Regions from separate parts of the Homo sapiens genome. Here regions 1, 2, 3, 4, 6 and 7 are each linked to region 5. Evidence: promoter capture Hi-C in 16 types of primary human blood cells and fetal thymus (Javierre and others, 2016). All regions are on one chromosome and are shown on one strand. Each heading gives the region's core, a stretch centred on a gene start or on the middle of the fragment in contact. The rest is flanking DNA. Distances are from core to core; before and after follow the strand shown. Region 1 overlaps SASH3 (SAM and SH3 domain containing 3). Region 2 overlaps ZNF280C (zinc finger protein 280C). Region 3 overlaps ZNF280C (zinc finger protein 280C). Region 4 has its middle 8.8 kb from the start of SASH3. Region 5 holds the start of BCORL1 (BCL6 corepressor like 1). Region 6 overlaps ZDHHC9 (zDHHC palmitoyltransferase 9). Region 7 overlaps XPNPEP2 (X-prolyl aminopeptidase 2).

Evidence for each region. Contacts are between HindIII fragments. The CHiCAGO score rates a contact against its expected background, and 5 or more counts as called.
Region 1: a fragment that was not itself captured here is called in contact with the fragment with the promoter of BCORL1 in region 5 in 6 of 17 cell types (non-activated CD4 T cells, total B cells, naive CD8 T cells and 3 more); the score reaches 7.5 in non-activated CD4 T cells.
Region 2: a contact is called between a fragment that was not itself captured here and the fragment with the promoter of BCORL1 in region 5, in 5 of 17 cell types (total B cells, non-activated CD4 T cells, activated CD4 T cells and 2 more). The highest score is 7.3, in total B cells.
Region 3: a contact is called between a fragment that was not itself captured here and the fragment with the promoter of BCORL1 in region 5, in 5 of 17 cell types (activated CD4 T cells, total B cells, naive CD8 T cells and 2 more). The highest score is 8.5, in activated CD4 T cells.
Region 4: a fragment that was not itself captured here is called in contact with the fragment with the promoter of BCORL1 in region 5 in 6 of 17 cell types (M0 macrophages, total CD8 T cells, naive B cells and 3 more); the score reaches 6.2 in M0 macrophages.
Region 6: a fragment that was not itself captured here is called in contact with the fragment with the promoter of BCORL1 in region 5 in 3 of 17 cell types (non-activated CD4 T cells, total B cells and activated CD4 T cells); the score reaches 6.7 in non-activated CD4 T cells.
Region 7: a fragment that was not itself captured here is called in contact with the fragment with the promoter of BCORL1 in region 5 in 6 of 17 cell types (neutrophils, total B cells, activated CD4 T cells and 3 more); the score reaches 8.0 in neutrophils.

What each region holds. Positions count from the first base shown.
Region 1 is chrX:129,789,815-129,792,959 of GRCh38, reverse strand. SASH3 (SAM and SH3 domain containing 3) reads right to left here. Exons shown (of 8, transcript NM_018990.4): 4 at 1,879-2,020; 5 at 484-632; 6 at 124-333. Among named protein-coding and RNA genes, the nearest start is that of SASH3, 11 kb to the right of the region's middle. The HindIII fragment of the contact is 1,276 bases long and covers 770-2,045 here.
Region 2 is chrX:130,222,344-130,225,445 of GRCh38, reverse strand. The region is part of intron 12 of ZNF280C (zinc finger protein 280C); the gene reads left to right. Among named protein-coding and RNA genes, the nearest start is that of ZNF280C, 45 kb to the left of the region's middle. The HindIII fragment of the contact is 363 bases long and covers 1,568-1,930 here.
Region 3 is chrX:130,206,238-130,209,518 of GRCh38, reverse strand. All of the region lies in intron 16 of ZNF280C (zinc finger protein 280C), which reads left to right. Among named protein-coding and RNA genes, the nearest start is that of RAB33A, 36 kb to the right of the region's middle. The HindIII fragment of the contact is 6,468 bases long and covers 1-3,281 here.
Region 4 is chrX:129,769,707-129,772,641 of GRCh38, reverse strand. No RefSeq gene overlaps it. Among named protein-coding and RNA genes, the nearest start is that of SASH3, 8.8 kb to the left of the region's middle. The HindIII fragment of the contact is 2,127 bases long and covers 285-2,411 here.
Region 5 is chrX:129,980,971-129,984,189 of GRCh38, reverse strand. It overlaps BCORL1 (BCL6 corepressor like 1), which reads right to left and starts at 1,555. Exons shown (of 14, transcript NM_001379451.1): 1 at 1,428-1,555. RefSeq lists a silencer at 490-726. The HindIII fragment of the contact is 8,398 bases long and covers 1-3,219 here.
Region 6 is chrX:129,810,601-129,813,615 of GRCh38, reverse strand. It overlaps ZDHHC9 (zDHHC palmitoyltransferase 9), which reads left to right. Exons shown (of 11, transcript NM_016032.4): 8 at 796-898; 9 at 2,107-2,210; 10 at 2,615-2,711. Among named protein-coding and RNA genes, the nearest start is that of ZDHHC9, 32 kb to the left of the region's middle. The HindIII fragment of the contact is 8,924 bases long and covers 1-3,015 here.
Region 7 is chrX:129,748,835-129,751,835 of GRCh38, reverse strand. It overlaps XPNPEP2 (X-prolyl aminopeptidase 2), which reads right to left. Exons shown (of 21, transcript NM_003399.6): 8 at 1,267-1,368; 9 at 10-91. Among named protein-coding and RNA genes, the nearest start is that of XPNPEP2, 11 kb to the right of the region's middle. The HindIII fragment of the contact is 2,211 bases long and covers 145-2,355 here.

The DNA.
Region 1 (3,145 bases), core at 158-2,657, 190 kb after region 5:
CTGCTTACCAGCCACCCCTGCCTAGGTCCTCCCCAACTACGCATAGCTGTCATTTCCTGGTCCCCATCCCTGGGGCAGTTGTGCCTCCCTGATACTAGATACTAGTGAGGACCAAGCTCAAACCTCCAGGCCGATGCGCTCCAGCAGCTCATGCAGGGTCTTAGGCTTGGGCCTCTTGCCCTTGCTCTGTCGGCGGCTGGGGCGGGCATGCCCCACGGCCTCCTCGGGCAGCACATCCACATAGATGAATTTGAAAGAGCCCACCTTGCCATTGAGTAGGCCCAGCCACGTGCCCACAGGTGGCTTTTCAATGATCTGGATCACATCTCCTTTCTGTTGGGGGAGAGGAGAGGAGAAGGGAGCAAGGGAGAGAGGATATGGGGGGCCTTGGCCTCCACTGACACTGTCATAGCCTGGTTCAGTCCAGCTTCCTTTTTGGGCACAGCCTGCCAGGCTCCAGAGAAGCCCGGATGCTGATCTTACCTGCAGTTTCAGCGAGTCGTGGTCATAGGGGCTGGGAGTGAAGTCGGTGTGGACTCGTGCCCGGCCACAGAAAGGCCCTGTGTACTGGGGGGCAGGTGGTTCCTCCCCGAAGCTGCCAGAACCTGGGCTGGGGCTGCAGAGCTCACTGCCTGCAGGAGATGGGGCAGGGAGGAGGCTCACCTTTGTCCTAGAACAGCTGAGACAGTGCCTAGCAGGTGCCTTCCAGGGGACCTGCCTAGAAATCCCAAGGGTATACACCGGGAAGGCAGCTGGGCTCTGGCAAGCTTTACACTGCAGAAGGGATTCTGAACCACCCCCTTGGCTACCGACCAGGAGCACGGCTTCACCTCTGGGCCCTTGGACATGAAAAGAGTTGGCAATGGGAGGAGAAATGGCTCACTGACCAAAGAATGGGCAAATTAGGAGGGCCTCTAGAGAACAACTGGGCCAACACTCCAATGAACAGATGCGGAAATCTGAGGTCACACAGACCAAGTGAACTGCTCAAGGCTTCTCATTTTATAACTGGCAGCACTGAGTCAGTCCATTAGACTCCATGTTCCCTGATACCCACTCCAACGCTCCCTCCACCCAGGAAGCTATGCCCTGCATTCATATTTGACTTTCCCTGCTTAACTCAATGTGTAGTTACAATGTCACATAGAAACTCAGTTGGGCTCCTTCTCCCTGGGAAGTACAGAGTAGTGGGCATTTTGAATGATTTTCAGTCGGGGGCAGGGAAGTGTCTGTGGAGGCAGAGAAAGCAGGAAACTTGGAGTGGACTTGAGGGGCAAGAAAGGCGGTGCTGAATGGGGCTGCAGAACCCAAAGCCCCTGCCTGGACGAGTTCCCTGCTGGCACCTCTTGTCCTGTCCCATGGACTTCTAGAAGATGCCAGGTGATGCCCTGAGCCCAGCAACTATGGTCTAGGGTCAAGAGGCTGACTCTTCACAGCTGGAGACCTCATACGCCCACCCCCGACTGGGGCATCAGAGGCCCAGGGATCTGTAGCCTCTAGCTCCCCTTGGAAAGGTGGGGACGGGCTGGTCCAAGAGGGTGACTGAGACTCTTCCTCTGCCCGTGGGCCTCTCCGGGGCCTGAGGATAGCAAGTGGAAGTTCCTCTACGGTACATCTGAGTTCAAGACTGGGTCATCTTGGGCAAGTCACTTAACCTCCCTAAGACCCTGTTTCCACATCAATAAAGCAAGGATAACAGTACTGGCCCCATGAGGTTGTTGAGAAGATTTAATGTGAAGAGGACTGAGAATGTTCCCAGCAGGCAAAGAGTAAGCATTCATTTCTCTTACCCCCCGCCCAGACAGTGTGCCACCAGCACGGCTGTAACCCAGTCCTTTCCTCCAGATTCGGCAGGTGTCCCCCGCATCCCCTACTCACCTGTTGATGCCTGGCGGCTGAGCACCGGAAGTTCATGCTCCTCTTGCTCAGAAAAGGCCAGCGCCATCTTCTCAGGGCCAGGGCTGTCCAGGCTGTAGTCTGGAGATGTCGGGGAGGCAGAGCCCTCCTCCAGAGTGTCTGCCTGCAGGGAGGGTAGGCGGGAAGCTTTAAGGAGCCTTGCTGGGGTGTGCATGAAGCTGAAGAAATGGGCCTGGGCTTAGTGAAGAGCTAGGGGCTGGCTCAAACCCCAACTCTACCACTTATAGGCTGAATGGCACTCTCTGAGCCCTAGTTTCTTCCCCTTTTGTAAAAATGAGAGTGACAGTCCTTGCCCTGGTTACCTCACAGAAACAGGTTCAACCAGGGCACCATGTGGATGTGCTTTTGTCAGCCTCAAGTGCCGATGTACATACAGAAAAGACCACGGTGGCACAACCTGGACTCAACCATTGCTACCGCACAACTGGGCAGACAATGTCGCTAGAGAGGAAACTACTTTTGCCTGTGTTTCTGTGTGCCAGGCCTGCCTGCCATTTCACTGAATCCTTACAGTGACACTTGAAGGTAAGTGGTATTGTTGGCCTGAGTTTACAAATGAGGAGTAAGGCCCAAGGGTTACTTACTCCTCATCTGTAAACTCAGGCCAAGGGAATTCAGGTTCAAGTCCCAAGGCAACCCACAACCAAGCCAGACTCCAGAGCTCCCCCTACCTCACCACACCTCAGTGAGGTGATAACTGTTTAACAGCTGGCCCTGATGAGTTGCCAATTCCTGTGTTGTAAACACTCCCCTCCACGGCCAATGTCAAGCTACCATTTTGACATCACTGGACGTGTTGTCTGAAATGAGGGTGAGGCTATTGCCACCATGAAGATGCTATGGATGCACGTAACCTCAGCAGCATTGATAAGAGTAAAAGGTAGTACAAGAATTAGGAAGTGATGAGTTTTGAAGATTTACTGTATTACCTTTGTTCGTTTTTACAAAATTTTATTTTTTTAAATTTATTTATTTAGAGACAGAGTCTCCCTATGTTGCCCAGGCTGGACTCTTACTGGGCTCAAGCAATCATCTTGCCTCGTCCTCCTGAGTAGCTGGGATTATAGGTGTACACCACCATGCCCAGTTTACCTTTTTAAAAAAATATAATTAACTGAATTGTAAGTTTCTTTAATTTGATTTTTAATAATGGTTGTGTTTAACAACTGGCTTGCACAATTTTTGACAGTTTGACCAACTGCTCTTGTGAGCTGGTATAAGCCCAGTA
Region 2 (3,102 bases), core at 500-2,999, 240 kb before region 5:
TCTAAGCAAGGGACATAGTGTGTAATAGTCCTCAAACATTTTTAACCTTTGAGCCCTTTATTTGCACAATACCTATTAACATTTCTTGAGGTATAGAGTTTGGGAAACACTATTCTTGGTGGTCTGTATTTCATTTTTTGGCCTTCAATTTTGAAAAGAAGAATGGAACATAAAGCAGTATCTCTGACTGTCTAATTATGGGTTTTTTAACATAATTCTTTCCCCTGTGCTTTACTAAGCTCCAGAGTGATATAGATGTAGATTTGAAGGGAGTGATAACATGCTTAGAAAGGTAAGAAAGACATAATGAACCCACTTTGTGAGCTGTGTCTTATAAGTGGTTTATCTGATCTGTAGTCATTCTTCATATCCTAAGTTGTATGCCTTAACTTGCTGTATGTATTGGAAAGAGTTACCCAACAGGTCTGAGTTGCTCAAATATTGCACAATTTCAGAAGTGCCTGCTTGTATAACTGGCCCTTGGCTAAATCTTGGAAATTGAGCTTCTAAAATGTTCTCTATGTTATTAACTGATAAGAGTGGTTTACATGCCTGGAACCTTGAGCCATGTTGTACCAGTTAGTCAAGAAAATTCGCACAAAAAAATACGGTTATGGTGACCACCTGCTTTTCTTGCAGTGGGAGGAGTCGTCTGAAAATTTGGTGGCTTACCTCCATAAAAAACCTAAGCTCTTAGACTCAAGAGAGCTTTCCCATCAAGCAACACTTTATACGTGTTGCTGCAGTTCATTGCTGAGGGATTTTATACATGTTGCTGCAGTTCATTGCTGAGGGATTAAGTGTGTCCTATGTGACTCCATTGGAATAGAGCTCTTAGAAGTTGGCGCCTGGTAATCCTCTAGAAGCTATCCAGTACACCATTTTCCTTTATTAATCCTGCTCTGTACCCTTACACTGTAATAAAACATAGCTGTGAGTATAACACTAAGTCCTATCGATCCTTCTGCTGAATCATCACATCTGGGAGTAGTCTGAGGGACCACTGAGGTGCCACAGGTGCTGTCTTAGTCTGTTTGAGCTACTATAACATGCTATTATACCATTGACTGGGAAGCTTAAACAACAAGCACTTATTTCTCTCTGTTATGGAGGCTGTAAAGTCCAAGATCAGGGCACCAGTGGTTCAGTGTCTGGTGAGGACCTGCTTCCTTGTTCATAGATGGCCATATTCTCACTGTGTCTTCACATGGGGGAAGGGGTGGAGAGGGCTCTCTAGGGTCCCTTTTATAAGGACACTAATCCCATTTATGACAGCTCCACCATCATAATCTAATTAGTTTCCGAAGGCTCCACCTCCCAATACTATTACATTGAAAATTAGGATTTCGCCATATGAATTGGGGGGCGGAGGGGACACAGGCATTCAGTCCATTTCAGGTGCTGAATTTTTTTGTTAAGTTTGGAGTACCTGAAGAGTAAACAGTCAGCAGTGAAGAGGTAAGATTCTATTGATAAGAAGGATCATCAGGCTTCTCTGAAGGTATTTGCAGTTTGCATAATTATTCACAAAAGACTCAAAAACCTGAGCTGACCAATATTATAAGCTTATAATTTAGATGGCATTAGTGCAATTTTATGTAATAAGAATTATTGACTCTATGGTTTATTTTATTCTTTTTGAAAACTTTGATTGCAACTTTTTCCTAAAAATAATATATTATTATGTCTTGAGTGATTTTGGAGTTAGCAATGCAGTTTATACATTTTTTAACAAAGGACGAAAGACTCCACATGTGTTAAATATCCTCATTAGCTCTTTAATAACAACAATAAGCAGTTAACATATAATAATCACTTACCATTTGACAGCCACTGGTGCTTTTACATGCATTATCTTGTTTAATCTTCACAGCCACCCTATGAGGCAGGTATATGATTGTTTTCATTTTATAGATGAGGAAACAAAGCTTTATAGAAAGTAATTTGCCCAGTGTCACATTCCCTAACAAATGGCAGAGCCCAAAATTGATTTATAGCCCAAGCTTCCACCGCAGACTCATATTCCACATTGACATTAGGTCTAAAGGCAGAAATTACAGATAGTTACCCTTGAAAATCCCTCAAATTGGCCAGGTGCAGTGGCTCATGCCTGTAATCCCAGCACTTTGGGAGGCCAAGGCAGGCGGATCACCTGAGGCCAGGAGTTTGAGACTAGCCTGGCCAACATGGTGAAACCCTGTCTCTACTAAAAATAAAAAAAATTAGCTGGGTGTGGTGGTGCATGCCTGTAATCCCAGCTACTCGTAGGCTGAGGGGGGAGAATCACATGAACCCGGGAGGCAGAGGTTGCAGTGAGCCAAGATCATGCCACTCCAGCCTGGGAGACAGAGCAAGACTCCGTCTCAAAAGAAAAAAAAATTCCTCATATAACCCAAAAACCATATAGTATGCATGTCAAGAAGTTCAACACTTAACTTTTTCTCTACCCTTGGAACAAGTTACTGTTTCTTTGGTTAAACATTATTTTAAAAATGTATTAGTTGGGCACAGTGGCTCATGCCTGTAATCCCAGCTCTTTGGGAGACCGAGGAGGGTGGATCACTGGAGGTCAGGAGTTCGAGACCAGCCCTGCCCCATCTCTAAAAATACAAAATTAGCCAGGTGTGGTGGCAGGTGCCTGTAATCCCAGCTAGTTGGGAGGCTGAGGCAGGAGAACTGCTTGAACCCAGGAGACGGAGGTTGCAGTGAGCCGAGGTTGTGCCATTGCACTCCAGCCTGGGCAACAAAAGCAAAACTGTATCTCAAAAAACAAAAAAAAGTATCATCTGTGATCATTAGCACAATGCAAGCATACATACATAAGAGGGATATCCAGGACTTGAGTCCAACTAAGGGAATAGTAGATTAATGTCTCCCATCTTGGGGCTCTGGACAAGTAAATACTCATTGAATGAAATGGCAGACACTTTGAACTAGTTAAATTGTGCCTGCTGCTCATTTGTACTCTGTCAGTCTCTTGCCTCACTTTATTTCTTTATTTAAGAAATATTTGAGTGCCTAATATATGCCAAGGACTGTTTTAGGTACTGGGGATACAGAAGTAAGCAAAGCAAGGTTTGTACTCACTGAAATAATGCATCA
Region 3 (3,281 bases), core at 775-3,274, 220 kb before region 5:
CTATCATCTCTGACTAAACTCTGTAGTGCCAAGCATTAAGATGAAACCTTCATGTATTTGCGTTTGTAAAATAACAAAAATAAGGTTCTCCAACCATATCTGAATAGAAGTAAGTTTATGAAAATACCATAATACTTGAAATCAATATATAGCCTTCATAATTGTTAATGTTTTTAGAATTAAAGTATATAAGTTGTTTACTGTACAGAAAAAAAATTGATGAATATTTCTAAAGGCATTGATAATTACCATTGGTTACACCACACACATTTAGCTCAGAATCAACTAAACATCTGTTTTTTTACATTATTTTGTTATCTTTTGACTCCATCTTCCTTTGTTAATTATTTTGCTCATGTTGACAGATGTTTGCCAGGCACATAGTACCTGGCACATAGTAGGCACTTGGTAAATATTTGTTGAATAAGTTAATGTATATGTTGAAAATGAATTATGTGGATAATGTTGGACCAACAGCTCATAGAGGAAATTTTTATTGTATTTTTAAAACATACTCATGTTAGGCCAAGTGCAGTGGTTCACACCTGTAATCCTAGCACTTTGGGAGGCTGAGGCGGGTGGATCACCTGAGGTCAGGAGTTCGAGATCAGCCTGGCCAACATGGCGAAACCCTGTCTCTACTAAAAATACCAAAATTAGCCGGGCATGGTGGCAGGCACCTGTAATCCCAGCTACTTGGGAGGCTGAGGCAGGAGAATCGCTTGAACCCGGAGGGCAGAGGTTGCAGTGAGCCGAGATTGCACCACTTAACTCCAGCCTGTGCAAAAGAGCAAAACTCCATCTAAAAAAAAAAAAAAAAATTATGCTATTTTTAAAGCATTGAATTCGAGGAATTAGAAAAGAGTAAAATATATTAGGTGTTACCTTTACTGAAAAATGCTTATAAGAATGAAAAGAGATTTAATTCTAAAGATGAGACTTCGATTTGATTTTTACCACATTATGGTCAAGCTCAATTGTATGCTTGGTTTTTAAATTAACTGTATGATTTGAAAGATCTGAGGTGCTTTTTTTTCAACTTGAGTGGATCTCACATCTGAATAGAAAATTGATCAAATTCTGTGTATGGGTCGGGTGCAGTGGCTCACACCTGTAATCCCAGCACTTTGGGAGGCCAAGGCGGGTGGATCACTTGAGGCCAGGAGTTCAGGACCAGCCTGGCCAACATGGTGAAACCCCGTCTCTACTAAAAATACAAAAATTCGCCGGGCGTGGTGGCGCATGCCTGTCATCCCAGCTACTCAGGAGGCTGAGGCACGAGAATTGCTTGAACCTGGAAGGCGGAGGTTGCAGTGAGCCAAGATTGCGCCACTATACCCCAGCATGGGCCACAGTGAGACTCGGTCTCAAAAAATTTTTTTAAAAAAATCTGTGTATGGACATAGCATTTTGTATTTCTATAAACAATTTTTTCATAATTACTATTTTGTTAAAATGAAATATTCTTTAGCTATTTATTGTGTACCTATCATGTATAATACAGCGTAGGAAGTCCTATACAGATGACCGTGATGAAGAAGGCTTGTACCAACCTTCAAGGAATGTACAATTTATTAAAGGGGTATGGATATAAGGTGTGAACATAAATAACTACAGTAATTCAAAGAGGTTTCTAGTAAGTGCAGTGAGAGATACAGATTTCAAAGGGGAGAAAGGTTTCTACTTACAAGAAGAGGCACAAGGGCATTCTAGTTGGAAGAAATAACATGAATAAAAGTTCAGAAAGGAAAATGCAGAAACTATACACATTCTCCGGAATGACAATGAATAACTAGGAGTAAAATTTGGATGAAGCACAAAGTTCATATAGCATAGTATTATATTAAGATCAAAGTTGGCCGGGCACGGTGACTCATGCCTGTAATCCCAGCACTTTGGGCAGCTGAGGTGGGTGGATCACCTGAGGTCAGGAGTTTAAGACCAACCTGGCCAACATGGCAAAACCCCATCTCTACTAAAAATGCAAAAAAAATTAGCCGGGCATGGTGGTGTGCGCCTGTAATCGCAGCTACTCAGAGGCTGAGGCAAGAGAATCACTTGAACCCGGGAGGTGGAGGTTACAGTGAGCCGAGATCGCGCCACTGCACTCCAGCCTGGGTGACAGAGTGGGACTCCATTCCAAAAATAAAAAAAGATCAGTCTGGGGAGATAGTTTTGAACTTAGATGCAGATTGTTGAATCCTTGAAAACAAGGCTGGGGAGTTTGGGCTTAATTTTCATTTGGAAGACATTGGGGAAGCCATTGATGTTTTGAGTAGAATCAAGGGTGCTGAAGGAAGATCACTTTGGAGGAGTATACAGGATGAGTTGTAGCTGCATGAGACACATAGGCTGGTTAAGGCTATTGTAGTGGTTAAGACTTACTTAATAATGCCCTGGGCTGAGGTGGTGGGGTGGTATCACATCATATTTAAGAGCATGGGCTTCAGAATCAAAGGGCTCCATTTCCAACCTGATCCTGGCCTCAGTAGATTACTGAAACTAATTCTGTCCTCTGTAAAAAGGTAATAATTGTAGCACCTATCTCTTTGGGTTGCCATAAGATTTAGATCAGGCAATAATGTCTAAAACCCTCAGACTGGCATAGAGTAAGTACTCGATAAATCGTTAACATCATAAAACGTTTGAAATATTGAATGTTTTACGTAAGAAGAAAGTCAGAGATAACTACAAATTTGAGCCTCAGTATTAGGGAAATGGCATCATAAAAGAGACTTTCCCCCTAAATTTCATGGGGAAAGCACATGATTCCAGTTTTATGAAGATAATTTTTGATGTGCAGGAGTTCTGGCTAGGTGTAAATCCACAACAGGTTGTTAAAACTAGAGAAGTAGCCAGGCACGGTGGCTTACGCCTATAATCCCAGCACTTTGGGAGGCCGAGGCGGGTGGATCACGAGGTCAGGAGATTGAGACCATCCTGGCTAACACAGTGAAACCCTGTCTACTAAAAAATACAAAAAAATTAGCCAGGCGTGGTGGCAGGCGCCTGTAGTCCCAGCTACTTGGAAGGCTGAGGCAGGAGAATGGCATGAACCCGGGAGGCGGAGCTTGCAGTGAGCCAAGATTGTGCCACTGCACTCCAGCCTGGACAACAGAGCCAGACTCCGTCTCAAAAAAAAAAAAAAAAAAAAAAACTAAAGAAGTCAATCCAAGGTATGCACTGGTTTCCTATAGAGGTGAAATATTTAAGTTTAAAGTATCTGATGAACTTCAAAAGTATATGTATGCTTTGTTAATAAACTGATAATTACAGGATTT
Region 4 (2,935 bases), core at 99-2,598, 210 kb after region 5:
TCATCTCTATAAAATAAAAATTAAAAAAAAAATTAATCGGGCATGGCGGTGCATGCCTGTAGTCCTAGCTAATCAGGAGGCTGAGGCGGGAGAAGCACTTGAGCCCAGGATTTCAAGGTTACGGTGAGCTATGATGGTGCCATTGCTCTCCAGCCTGGGTGACAGAGCAAGACCCTCTCTCTAAAAAAAAAAACAAAAAACAAAAGGAGCTATTTAGATGATTTGTGTATGTACCTATCTACCTATCATCTTACCTATGCCCTTTTCTATTCAGATTTGAAGCTTGAAGGAACGTGGCTCAACACCGCCGTCACCATTGTTGTCACAGCTGTGTGACCTTCAACAGGTCTCCTTGGGCCTCAGTGGGTCATTAGAGGCAGTAAGGGAGTGACAGAAGCACACACTGAAAGCGAGAGCGGAGCCATTGTGGAGCTGAGTCAGTATGCTGCGGATTTAGTCCTTGCTCTGGCCCCACTGGACTGTGTGACCTTGGACAAGTCCCTTCCTCTTCCTGGGTTGCTGTTGAAGTTTTCCCATCTGTACACTGAAAGGACTGCACCAGGTTTTGTGTGTGTGTGTGTGTGTGTGTGTGTGTGTGTGTGTGTGTGTGTGTGTTTGGTCATGGAGCTCCTATTCAGGATTGGCTCTTGAATTTTGCGGGCCTTGTGCAAAATGAAAATGCCCGGTGCCTCTTGCTTAAAAATTATCAAGAATTTTGAGACAGTGACAGGCGAGCATTAAACCAAGCATGGGGCCCTTGTAAGCACAAAGTCTTGAGGGACTGCACAGGTCCTACACCCGTGAAGCTGGCCCTGCAACTACTTCAAGTACAATTTTACGGGAAGCCCGTCAGGGCTACTTCGTGCAGCAGCTCTGTTTTCCTCGACAGCCCCTGTGGTGTTTCTGAGGCATCTCAGGCTCCCGGGAGCATAGTTGGAAAGACGTAAATTAGATGTTTGCTCTAGAGCCTTTCTAATTTTGGCTATTTATATATAAAACTTGGGTTCCAGACCTTTTTCTTACCTACCTGCAAAGGTGAAGCTGAATTGAACTTGTGCTGGGCAAATAACAGCAATATCATTTCTTGTCTGTGTGGCTTCCTGGTTTAGAGTGCTGCCACATCCGGGTCTCATGAGCCTCTCGCTGTAACCTCACCAAGAAGGCAGCATGGGAGATTCCAGAAAGGATAACTGAAGACCAGGGAGAAGTGACTTGCCCAAGGCCACACAGCTGGCACAAATGGGACTCAAACCCCAGAATCTTAACTCCTAGGAAAAGGGGCTTTTCCACATGGCCGGCTCCCCAGGCAATCAGCAGGCGAGGAGAGGTTTGCTAAGCCCCATCCTCCAACATTAAAACAAAGTACTAGAGCCCAAGGGGACAGTTCCTAACAATCTTTCATTCCTAACGATGTCACAAGAGTCCCTGTGTATCAGCCCTGGTGTATGTGCCCTGTTTCCCTGCCTGACCCAGAGTTAATCCCTTAAAGCAGGAATGGTCAAGTCTGGCCATCTGGGTCCCAGGGGAGGGAAGAGCTGGGGTGACTGTGAGCCCTCGTTCCAGCCACGTTCCAGGGCTGGGTTCTTCCTCCCAGAATGGTAGGCTGGAAGGGGCAGTTAAGGGGATTCAGAGATGAGGTGGAGTCCTGGGTCTCGCACTGAGGAAAAAAGCACGAGCTGCCTCGGTCCGAAAGGCCTGTGTGAGGGTGTTGGTCAGGTGCCTGGTCTTGCCACCCATGACCTGCCAGAACCCCAGGAGCAAGTGTCAGGGTGCAAAGGCAAAGGTCTGGCAGGGTCTGGGGAGGCACTATGGTGTGGATCTGCTTCTCCTGCTTGAGCCTCAGTTTTCTTGTCAGTAAAATGATGAAAGCCATACCACTTGCCCTTTATTTTTCTTTATTTTATTATTATTATTATTTTTTGAGATGGAGTCTCGCTCTGTTGCCCAGGCTGGAGTGCAGTGGCACGATCTCAGCTCACTGCAACCTCCGCCTCCTGGGTTCAAACGATTCTCCTGCATCAGCCTCCCGAGTAGCTGGGACTATAGGTGTGCGCCACCACACCCAGCTAATTTTTGTATTTTCAGTAGAGATGGGGTTTCACCATGTTGCCCAGGCTGCTCTTGAAATCCTGGCCTCATGTGATCCTCCCACCTCGGCCTCCCAAAGTGCTGTGATTACAGGGGTGAGCCACCACACCCGGCCAGGACTTGCCCTTTCTTGAGAGTGGATTCTAGAGTCCTCTGACTGGTTTAAATCTGGCTTTTTTTCATTTACCCAATGAAAAAAGTGACTTTGAGTCACTTGATAAATCTCTATGGGCCTCACTGAGTTCCTGCACTTGTAAAATGGGAATAAGAAAAGGGCCTTCTCAGAGGTTGTGAGGATTAAATGAGAAAATGCATGTAAAGCTTCTTGCACGGTGGCACATAAACACTCAGTAAATGGCAGCCATGATGATGATGATGGTGATGATGATGAGGGTGATGATGACTTTAATTTTATTAGTAGTACCTGTCTTTGTGGGGTGAGCAGGTGAGGGAGCAAATTATTTAGCAAACAGAGGCCCATCTTTGGATACTCAGTAAGGCTTGGTCAGGGCTGGAGCCTCTGGATGCAAGCACTGGTGATGGTAACCATCACAGGTCACCCTCACACTCAGCAGACTAGGCCTGATGGTTTCAGGCCAGGAGACTTCTCTGCCTGGTGCCTTTGCCTGGCACCCTGCACCTTGGTTCTTTCCTTCCACCAACTGTGCGCTGCTTGGCAAAGGTGCCAGCCCCAACTTTTCTGGATTACATTTGACAAGTTCCCCAGTGTAGGGCTCCTTTCTGTCCCTTCCACAAGGTTACAATACCTTTTTAGACAGGCTGGAGGTTGGCTGGTTGGGCGTGGTGTGCACGTGCATCTGTGCACATGCGCACACATATTCATATG
Region 5 (3,219 bases), core at 306-2,805:
GCGGCGGCGGCAGCGGCGGCGGCAGCAGCGCCGCCCCCGGCCCCGCCCCGCCGCCCGCCGGAGCCCCACGCCCCGCCCGCCCGCCCCGCCGCCGGACTGCTCCCCCCGAAGCCCACCACTAAGCCCTCCCACTCCCCGGCCGCGATCCGCTCGAATCCAGCTCCGCTGGGCCTGCTGTCCGTCCCTCACGCCCCTTAGGACCCGGGGTGGGGGAGCCCTGGGGTTCGCGGCCATCCCTCTCCCTCCTTCTCCAAGGGCCGGGGGATTGCCCCTGATCCCGAAACCCGGCCCCGTAACCGGAGCCTCCCTCCTTCCAGCCCTCGGCTTCGCTCGCCGACCCCTTGCCTCCAGGCCTGGCGCGAAGCGGGTGGAGGGCTTGCACGCCGGATCTCCCCTCTGGCTTGCCGGTGCTAGTATGAATTGCCCCCGATCTCATCTTCCTTCAATTTAAGCCCCCTCCCCGCCGCGCCCGGCCCGGCGGCCCCCGCCCCTAGAGCGAGGGCAGCGGAGCCAGGGCGCTCCGAAGTCATCCCCCGCCTTTTTTCCAGGGACTCGGATAATTGCCCCTGCCCCCATCACAGCACTCCCACTCCCGAACCCAGGCCCCGCCGCCACCTAGGGGTACCCCTTACCCTACGATTCCCGCACCCCAGCGCCGGGAAGAAAGCAGCCCTGAAGAGCACCCGTCGCACCTCCCCTCTGAGGTTGGAGGGCATTTTCTCCCGGTCTCTTCAACACTTCATCACGGACACCCCCCCCCCCCAAAAAAAAGCCTTTTCTCGCCCTGCCCTGCTAGCCAGCCTCCCTTCGGATCGTCGGATCCTTGGATCGGGGGTTGGAGTCAGGTAGTTAACAAGACCATAGCCTCCACCTCCCTTTCCGAGGAGTGGGGTAATTCCTATGGTTTCCCCCCCAGGATCAACCGACCCCCGTTTCCATGGAGACCCCCGCCCAGCCGGGAAGAAGACTCTCTTGGATCGTGGCGAACGAGTCTCACCTGGCTAAGAGAGAAGGGGGTCGAGAAGGGGGTAGGGCAAGTCAGGGGATGGGGTACGAAGGTGGGAAGTGGAAGGGAGCTGTCCCGAAGGGAGGGGCGAAGACATACCCAGCTCCAGGGAGCGCTACGTCCGGGGACACGAAGAGGACGGCGCCCCCGGGGGGCAAGCCGAGCGGCCGCAGGGAAAAGAAGGAACAGGGTTGGAGAAAGGCTTAAGATAGAAAGAAGCGGGTGGGGGGATACGAAAAAGCCGGGGAGTCAAAAGGGGTGGAGGGATTGGGGGAGAGAGAAAAAAGACGCACCTGTTCCCGGGTCGGCTCCGCGGGGAGGCTCAGGCCGCCACCCGGGCTCCCTCTTACTCCCTCTTAACCGCCACCCGCCTAATACTGCCCCGATCTGATGCCCCCCTCCGCCCCTTATCGCCACCGACCTCCTTCTCCTCTCTCTCGGCGGCGGCGGCGGTCGGACTCTAGGAACTGAGAGGAAGAAGGGAGGGCTCAGCAAAGCGGAGGAGAGACAGAGCCACACACTGGCAGCAGCCGCGGCGAGCGAAAGAGTGAGGGGGAGAGCGGTGTGTGTGTGTGTCTGTGTGCGAGCGAAGCCTGGTGGAGTGGGTGCCGGTCGCAGGGCTCGACGGGAAGTGGAGTCCGGCTGGGTCCGCGGGCGGCGCCAACCCCCGCTCCACCGGACTACAACTCCCAGAATGCGGCCTACGCGGGTGGGGGGGAATGGGGAGGAGGAGGCGAAGGGAGGGAGCGAGCAAGAGAGGGAGGGACGAAAGCAGGGAGCAAGCGGCGGCGAAGGGGGCAGAGCCAAGCAGCCCCGGTGACACTGGGAGGGGAGGAGAGGAGGAGGGGATCGCTGAGAGGACCGAGCGGATTCCGGAGAGGGAGGCAGCAGTGGCTGCAGCAAGCCGGGCAAAAAGCTAGACTCCTGGGAGAGGCGGAGGCGCTCAATCTGCGGGGCTGCAGGAGCCCCACGTCCCCCCCCACCTCGACGCCCCTCGAAGGGGGAGGTTGAGGAAGGGAGAGGGTCAGTGAGCCGCGGCCAAAGGGTTCTCTCTCTTTCTTCCAACGTTCTCCACCTTATGCCCCGACCTGACTTTCTCAGGCCACTGGTGCCGATCCAGTGTGCAAATCTCGAGACCCCAGATCTCCTCTGCCGGGCAGCGGAGAACAGACGCATTCAGTCCCCTTCTCCCAGGGGCCTGAGGGAGGCTCCCCTTGCAGGCAGGGCGTGACTCCCCCTTCTTCCCGCTCCCCCCCCCACCGTCGTCGCCACCCCCCCATCTCCCTCCCCGGAACCCCTCCCCTGAAGCCGGGGCTCGCCTCTCTCTCTCCCCGCCAAGACACGGAGTCCTTCTGGGGACGACTACCCAGCCCCCTCCCTTATACTGGGCCCCTACCCACCAGTATCCCCTTCTTAGCGTTGCCCCCTCACCGAAATAATGGTGGGGGCGACCCGAGTTGGACTGGTGGCTACTTTCCCTCCAAGGCTAGCCGTCCTTCGCCACGCCGACCCTGTGTAGAAATAGAGAAGCATATTAATACTCCCGTCCCCCCTCCCCCCCAGATTTGAATACCCGTGGAAGTGGCTCACAAGAAAGAGGGGTTGGTAGTGGAAGTGAGCTAGGGGTGAATCCCAATCTTCAAACCTCATCCCTCCCATGGAAATCCAGGTATTCGCCTTTTGCTTAAAAGCCATTAAATCGCTTGGGTGGGGGGTAAATTATCTAAACCCCAATGTCCATGCGACTCGAAGCGACGCTACCTTGTAGGAATAAGATACGAACTAGGTTGCCGCCACGGGAAGGAAAGTATCCCCCACCCCCGTCGCCGTCCACCCCCAAAAACACATACCCCTAGGAGAGTCAGATGGCTGAAGAAGGGGGAAGGCGGTGGGAGTGCTGGAGAGTAAAAGGACTGTGGCGGGGAGGGTCCGCGGCCCCCACTACGAGAGCAGAATCCAGATGCTAAGAGGTGGGTGGGGGGTGCGGCACAATCGCAGACTGTGTCTTTCCTCGCTTTTCCCGGAATCGCCGCCCGATCACCGTCTAACACTCGGAGTTGCTTACCACTCAGTCCCCTAGCCCCATTTGTGCGCGTGAGGCGGCCAGAGCCCGGGAAGCCCGGGCACAAACTCCGCGGAAGCTGGCCTTCGCTGCCGCCGCGCCGCCGCGGGCCTCCCTCCCTCCGCTCGCGGCCCCGCCGATCTACCTTCGC
Region 6 (3,015 bases), core at 44-2,543, 170 kb after region 5:
TTCCCCACAGTTCTCCCACTATCTAGTTTTTCAGATATCAGAGAGTGCCAAGGTCTAAAATAATTTAAAAAAATATAGTCTTAGTGGTAGCAACCAGAATGGAAGATGACCGGGACTAAAAGGGAGGTCTTTCCTTCACCCCCTGCTCAGGACAGTGGCTGCATTTCTGCAAAGGGGGTTCAGATGAGATTTCTATAAATCACATCCTCTTTTTTTTCCCCCACCAGTTCTTCATTTATGAATTTTCTTTTTTTGAGACAGAGTCTTGTACTGTTGCCCCAGCTCGCCTCCTGGGTTCAAATGATTCTCCTGCCTCAGCCTCCCGAGTAGCTTGGACTACAGATGCCCGCCACCACGCCCAGCTAATTTTTTGTATTTTTAATAGAGACGGGGGTTTCACCATGTTGGCCAGGCTGTTCTCGAACTCCTGACCTTGTGATCCGCCCACCTTGGCCTCCCAAAGTGCCGGGATTACATGAATTTTGTTTTTTGACAGAATTTCCATTGGCAGTGATGGCCAACATTGTTTAGCTTTGGCCCCTCCCATGCATCCCCTTCCAAGAGCCAATGATGGGTAAATAGGCACACCCTTAAATACCCTAGATACGCTAGAAATTCTTTCATAAGGGATCTATCCAGTAAGTTCAGAATTCATCTATTGTTATATATGGAAACATGGCTTTTTGTGATATACGTTCCAGGAGGTAAAGATGGTCTGACTGGTGCTCTGAATATGGGCGGAGGCATCAAGTCTCCTGATGTTGAGTTCTTCAATACTCCTTAACCACACCTCACTGTTCTAGAAGTCCTCATTTGCTTCTTTACACTCTGGTCCGTCGTGGGACTGACTGGATTTCATACTTTCCTCGTGGCTCTCAACCAGACAACCAATGAAGACGTGAGTCAACTTTCTCTTCTCCTCACCACATATTCTTCTTCCCAAAGCCTATCCTCTTGCTACCTGCTAGAGAACTACCGAGTCTCCAGGGCCTGGGAGGTTGAGGCAGGCAGAAACGTGGTATGCGAGGTTGTTAAGTCAGATGTGTGGAAGAGAAAGGAGAGGGCTTTGTTGAATGCTTGTGGAGCATTAGGAAGAAGAGGTTGAAAAGTTGGGTGGGTATACAGCCTTTAACTGTTCACAGGTCCTTAAAGGCTAGCTGGTGCCTCTGTTTGGCATGGAGAGGGACAGTTGCACTGGATGAATCCTTGCTATATAAAAAGTTACCAATTAGGCTGGGTGTGGTGGCTCACGCCTGTAATCCCAGCACTTTGGGAGGCTGAGGCGGGCGGATCACCTGAAGTCAAGAGTTCAAGACCAGCCTGGCCAACATGGCAAAACCCTGTCTCTACTAAAAATACAAAAATATAGCCGGATGTGTTAGTGTGCACCTGTAGTCCCAGCTACTCGGGAGGCTGAGGCAGGAGAATCACTTGAACCCGGGAGGTGGAGGTTGCAGCGAGCAAAGATCACGCCACTGCACTCCAGCCTGGACAACAGAATGAGACTCTGTCTGGAAAAAAAAAAAAAAAGTTAGCAATTAATCTACATTCACTGTAGAAAATCAGAAAATACAGATGAGCAAAAAGAAAAAAGTAAGTTCCTCTTACTTTACTTCTTAGACATCACCTTTGTTAGTAGTATGATTTATATATTCTAGACTTGTCTAGACTTTTTTCCATGTTTATTTATGTGTTTATATTATGTACTTTTAAATAAAAATAGTATATATCATTCAGTTATCTGCTTTTTTCACTCTATTGTGAGTATTTTTCATGGCTGTGTATGTATTTCTTTTTTGTTGTGATAAAATATACATGATATAAAGTGTGCTATATTAAATGTCTTTCAACCCTGGCGATCAATGGGGTGACAGTTGTTGCAGCCAGATCGCCCTCATATCCTAAATGTACAGTTCAGTGGCATCACATTGTTGTGCAACCATTGCCACCATCCATTTCCAGAACTTTTTTATTATCCCATGCTGCATGTGTTTCTTCAACATTATTATTATTATTTTTCTTTTTTGTGTCTGTTTTTAATTTTATTATTATTATTTGTTCATTTTAACATTATTTTTAATGTCAGCCTTGGTTTTTATCTTGCAGATCAAAGGATCATGGACAGGGAAGAATCGCGTCCAGAATCCCTACAGCCATGGCAATATTGTGAAGAACTGCTGTGAAGTGCTGTGTGGCCCCTTGCCCCCCAGGTGCTCAGGGCACTCAAAAGTCCTGGGACTGTTGGGATGAGCAGCTCAACCTGATCCTGTTACCTTGTCTGATGTGTTTTTCTGAGTGTGGCCTCTTGGTGTCAAATAGGTCTTTCCAGGGCTTGCCACTTGGTACCATGTCTACATGGACCATAGACCATGGGCTGGTTGTTTTGGAGGGATGATCTTTCATTCTTAATTTCATTTGTTTGTTCCCTGGTTAATGTGACATTTCCTGGTTTGTGGAAGAAAAAGTGAATGGGAGATAAGAGGCATGTGCTGTGTTCAGGCTAGATTGCCAAAGGACAGGTTTATATTTTCCAGTCTATGCAGCAAAATTCCGTAGGCCAGGTGGGTGGAGGGGTGAATGCCCAGTTCTTTGTTAACTCTCTTATCTCCTTCAGTGTGCTGGATCGAAGGGGTATTTTGCCACTGGAGGAAAGTGGAAGTCGACCTCCCAGTACTCAAGAGACCAGTAGCAGCCTCTTGCCACAGAGCCCAGTAAGTGTTCCTGACTTAAGGCTGGGTCGATATAGAGAGGGCGGAGGCTAATTTACAGCTTGGAAATATAATTAGGCAATATTGTATTCTAATCACCCCAGCTTCCCTGCCTCTACACCTGCCCTGATGTTGCCTTCAGATCTTTGTGTCCTTGATGTAGATTAAGATTTAGTCATTTCTTTGGTGTATATTGAGTGACTCTGTGCCAGCCACTGTACTAGCTGCCAGGGTTATACCAATGAATGAGGCAAACGATGTCCCTGCTCTCAAGGAGCTCATTGTCTAGTGGGGGCAAGAAACAAGT
Region 7 (3,001 bases), core at 1-2,500, 230 kb after region 5:
AAGCCATACCTAATAGAAGAGTCTGTGAGCAGCGTGTAGGAATAGAAGAAGGGGTTATAGGGGATGTCACTGGCTCGAAGGTTGAAGAGCCCTGGGAAGAGAATTGACAAGGAATATTTAATGCTGATCTGCCTGAGGCAAGCTTTTCTTTTCCTCTTTTTTTCCTTTCCTTCCTTCCTTCTTTCCTTCCTCCCTTCCTTCCTTCCTTCCTTCCTTCCTTCCTTCCTTCCTTCCTTCCTTTCTTTCTTTCTTTCTTTCTTTCTTTCTTTCTTTCTTTCTTTCTTTCTTTCTTTCTTTCTTCCTTTCTTTCTTTTTCTTTCTTTTCTTTCTTTTTTGACAGTATCTTGCTCTGTCACCCAGGCTGGAGTGCAGTGGCAAGATCTCACTGCAATCTCCACCTCGCAGGTTCAAGCAAGTCTCCTGCCTCAGCCTCCCAGGTAGCTGGGTTTGCAGATGCCTGCCACCATGCCCAGCTAATTTTTGTATTTTTAGTAGAGACGGCGTTTCAACATGTTGGTCAGGCTGGTCTTGAACTCCTGACTTCAGGTGATCCGCCCACCTTGGCCTCCCAAAGTGCTGGGATTACAGGCGTGAGTCACCGCACCCGGCCAGAGGCAAGCATTTCTGACACTTTTGCCCCACTGTTTCCTTTGGCCTCCAAAGATTACCAACAGCATGCTTGTATCATCTACCTCTGCATGTTACTCAATCTTTTTGCCGGGGGGGGGGGGTGGGGGAGTGGGCGTCTTTGAGATGCTGTTGAGAGTTATGGATCTTTTCCCCCCAGAAAAATGCAGATACTTAGCAGTCAGCACACAGTTCCAGTGGGTCCCTGGAATATCTGAAGCCCAGCCATAGGGATCAGACAAGAAGTCCTGAGCCATGTCGGAAAGAGTAGAGTCCCACTGGGTGCTAAAGCTGGGAGTGTGAGTGCCCTGGGGTAGTGGCTAAGTTGTTGGGAGGCATTTCCTGGTCCTCCTCCCCTTAGTGGGACAGAAGCACTTTGCTGCCATAGTCAGTTCGTTCCTCTGGTGGCCTGTGGGCTGGTCCCAGCTTGCTCAGGGCTACCTTTTGTCCTTTTTCTGAAGCCATGAGCTCCTGCCCCCTTACCCTTCTTGGTTCCCACGGGCTGTGGCCATGGAGTTCTCAAGAATTGGTGGGCACATGGTTATTTGGGGAAGAGCTAGCTCTGTGCTGCAGGGCCCGGGAGGCTTGGGGCATTGGGGAGACCCAGGCGCCCACCCATGTCTGCAAATCCACACTCACAGGCCGTCTCCTCAAGCGCCGACAGAAGGACGGCAGTCGGGACCTTTTGATGCTTCTGCATCTGGCTTCGGACGCCAGATACTTTCTCCTGCCAAGTGCTCCCTAGAAGCAAAGGAGCCCCAAAAAAGTGTAAGTGACAGACCTTGCCTTTGGCACTCGGTTCCTGGAAGGTCAGCCTTAGGGTAACAGTTTTGCATCCTCTTAAAAAGCAGCGAAACCCTTTCCTCAAACAAACTCTTACTTGTGTACTCATTAATGACATGGGCCCTGGACCCAGATGGGGCTCAAATCCTGGCTTTGCCATTACTGGATGGGTGACCTTGGGCAAATTACCTAACCCCTCTGTGTTCCATTTTGCACATTTGTAAAATGGGGATGGAGTATAATAAGCATCTGCCTCAATAGGGCTGCTATGAGGATGGAATGAATTAATATTTGTAAAGCACACAGAATGGTATCTTGAGATGTAGTAACTCTTGTATCTTTCTGATTAATAAATAATCATGCAGACTGAGATCAAGAGAGCAGTCCTAGTTGAAGGACAAAGGGGTAGGGCTGGGGCCGTGTTCAACTTTCTCTGCAGTAACCCCAGTATTTACTAAGCCACGGGTACTGGGCTAAGCACTCCATGTGCATTGTTCTAATTCTTACCCATCCCATTTTACAGATAAGGAAACTGAGGCTTCAGAGAGGTAAAGTGACTTGTCTAGGGTTTCATGGATGCAAGAGGTAGAGCTGGGATTTGAACTCTGGTCTGTCTGACTGCATGGCCCACGCTCTTAATCTGTACAGACACCGTACTGTCTTGATAACATTCTCAGTCTCCAAATCTGTCCTTAAACTCTGTGTCACAGCACCGTCCTTTCTCAGATGCTTATATCTGGGTTCTATGACTTTAGTTTTCATCTTCTATCCCTGCCCCCTGCAAGATATTCAAAGAGTCTACCCCTAGGCAGGACTAGGAGTTTGCTGGCCGAAGGCCATAAACATTAAGGGTCCTAGTTGGGTTCAGATATGAGCATAAATAACTTAATGTCGTGAAAAATATTTCATGTGAACAGGTAAAACTATTCAACAATGACCAAAGCTTTGGGTACAATACATTTTTGTAGGTTTATTTTACTACATATTTTACACATAATTTATGTTATGTGTATTTTACACATAACATAAAACATATCATTTTAATCTTTTTAAAGTGCACAATTCAGTGGCTTTCAGCATACTCACAATGTTGTGCAACCATCGCCACGATCTAATTCTAGAACATTTTCTTCATCCCCAAAGGAAACCCTGTACTCACTAAGGAGTCACTCCCTATCCCCCCTCCCCTGAGCCCCAGGAAATCCCTAATCTATTTTCTGTCTCTATGGATTTGCCAGTGCTGGATATTTCATACAAATGGAATTGTACAATATGTGGCCTTCTCTGACTGGCTTCTTTCACTTGCAATTATGTTTTCAAGGTTCAGGAATATGATACCTTTCTGAGAAACCAAATGAACCCAAATTTCAATGGTCTGGTGCGTACAGGTATGTTTGAGTAGCGAACTTTTCATGTTCTGCCCTTTGCACTCTCCTTTCTCCTTTAAAATCTGCAAGTGGCTGGAAAGTCTCTCTCGTCTTTATAAGCTTATTGAAGCTGAACTCTGTTCTTCGGCTTCCAAACTCAAGCTCCAGGTGCCTTTTTCTTGAAGACTGGCAGCGGGTGATGACTCGGCATCCCCTCACTTTTG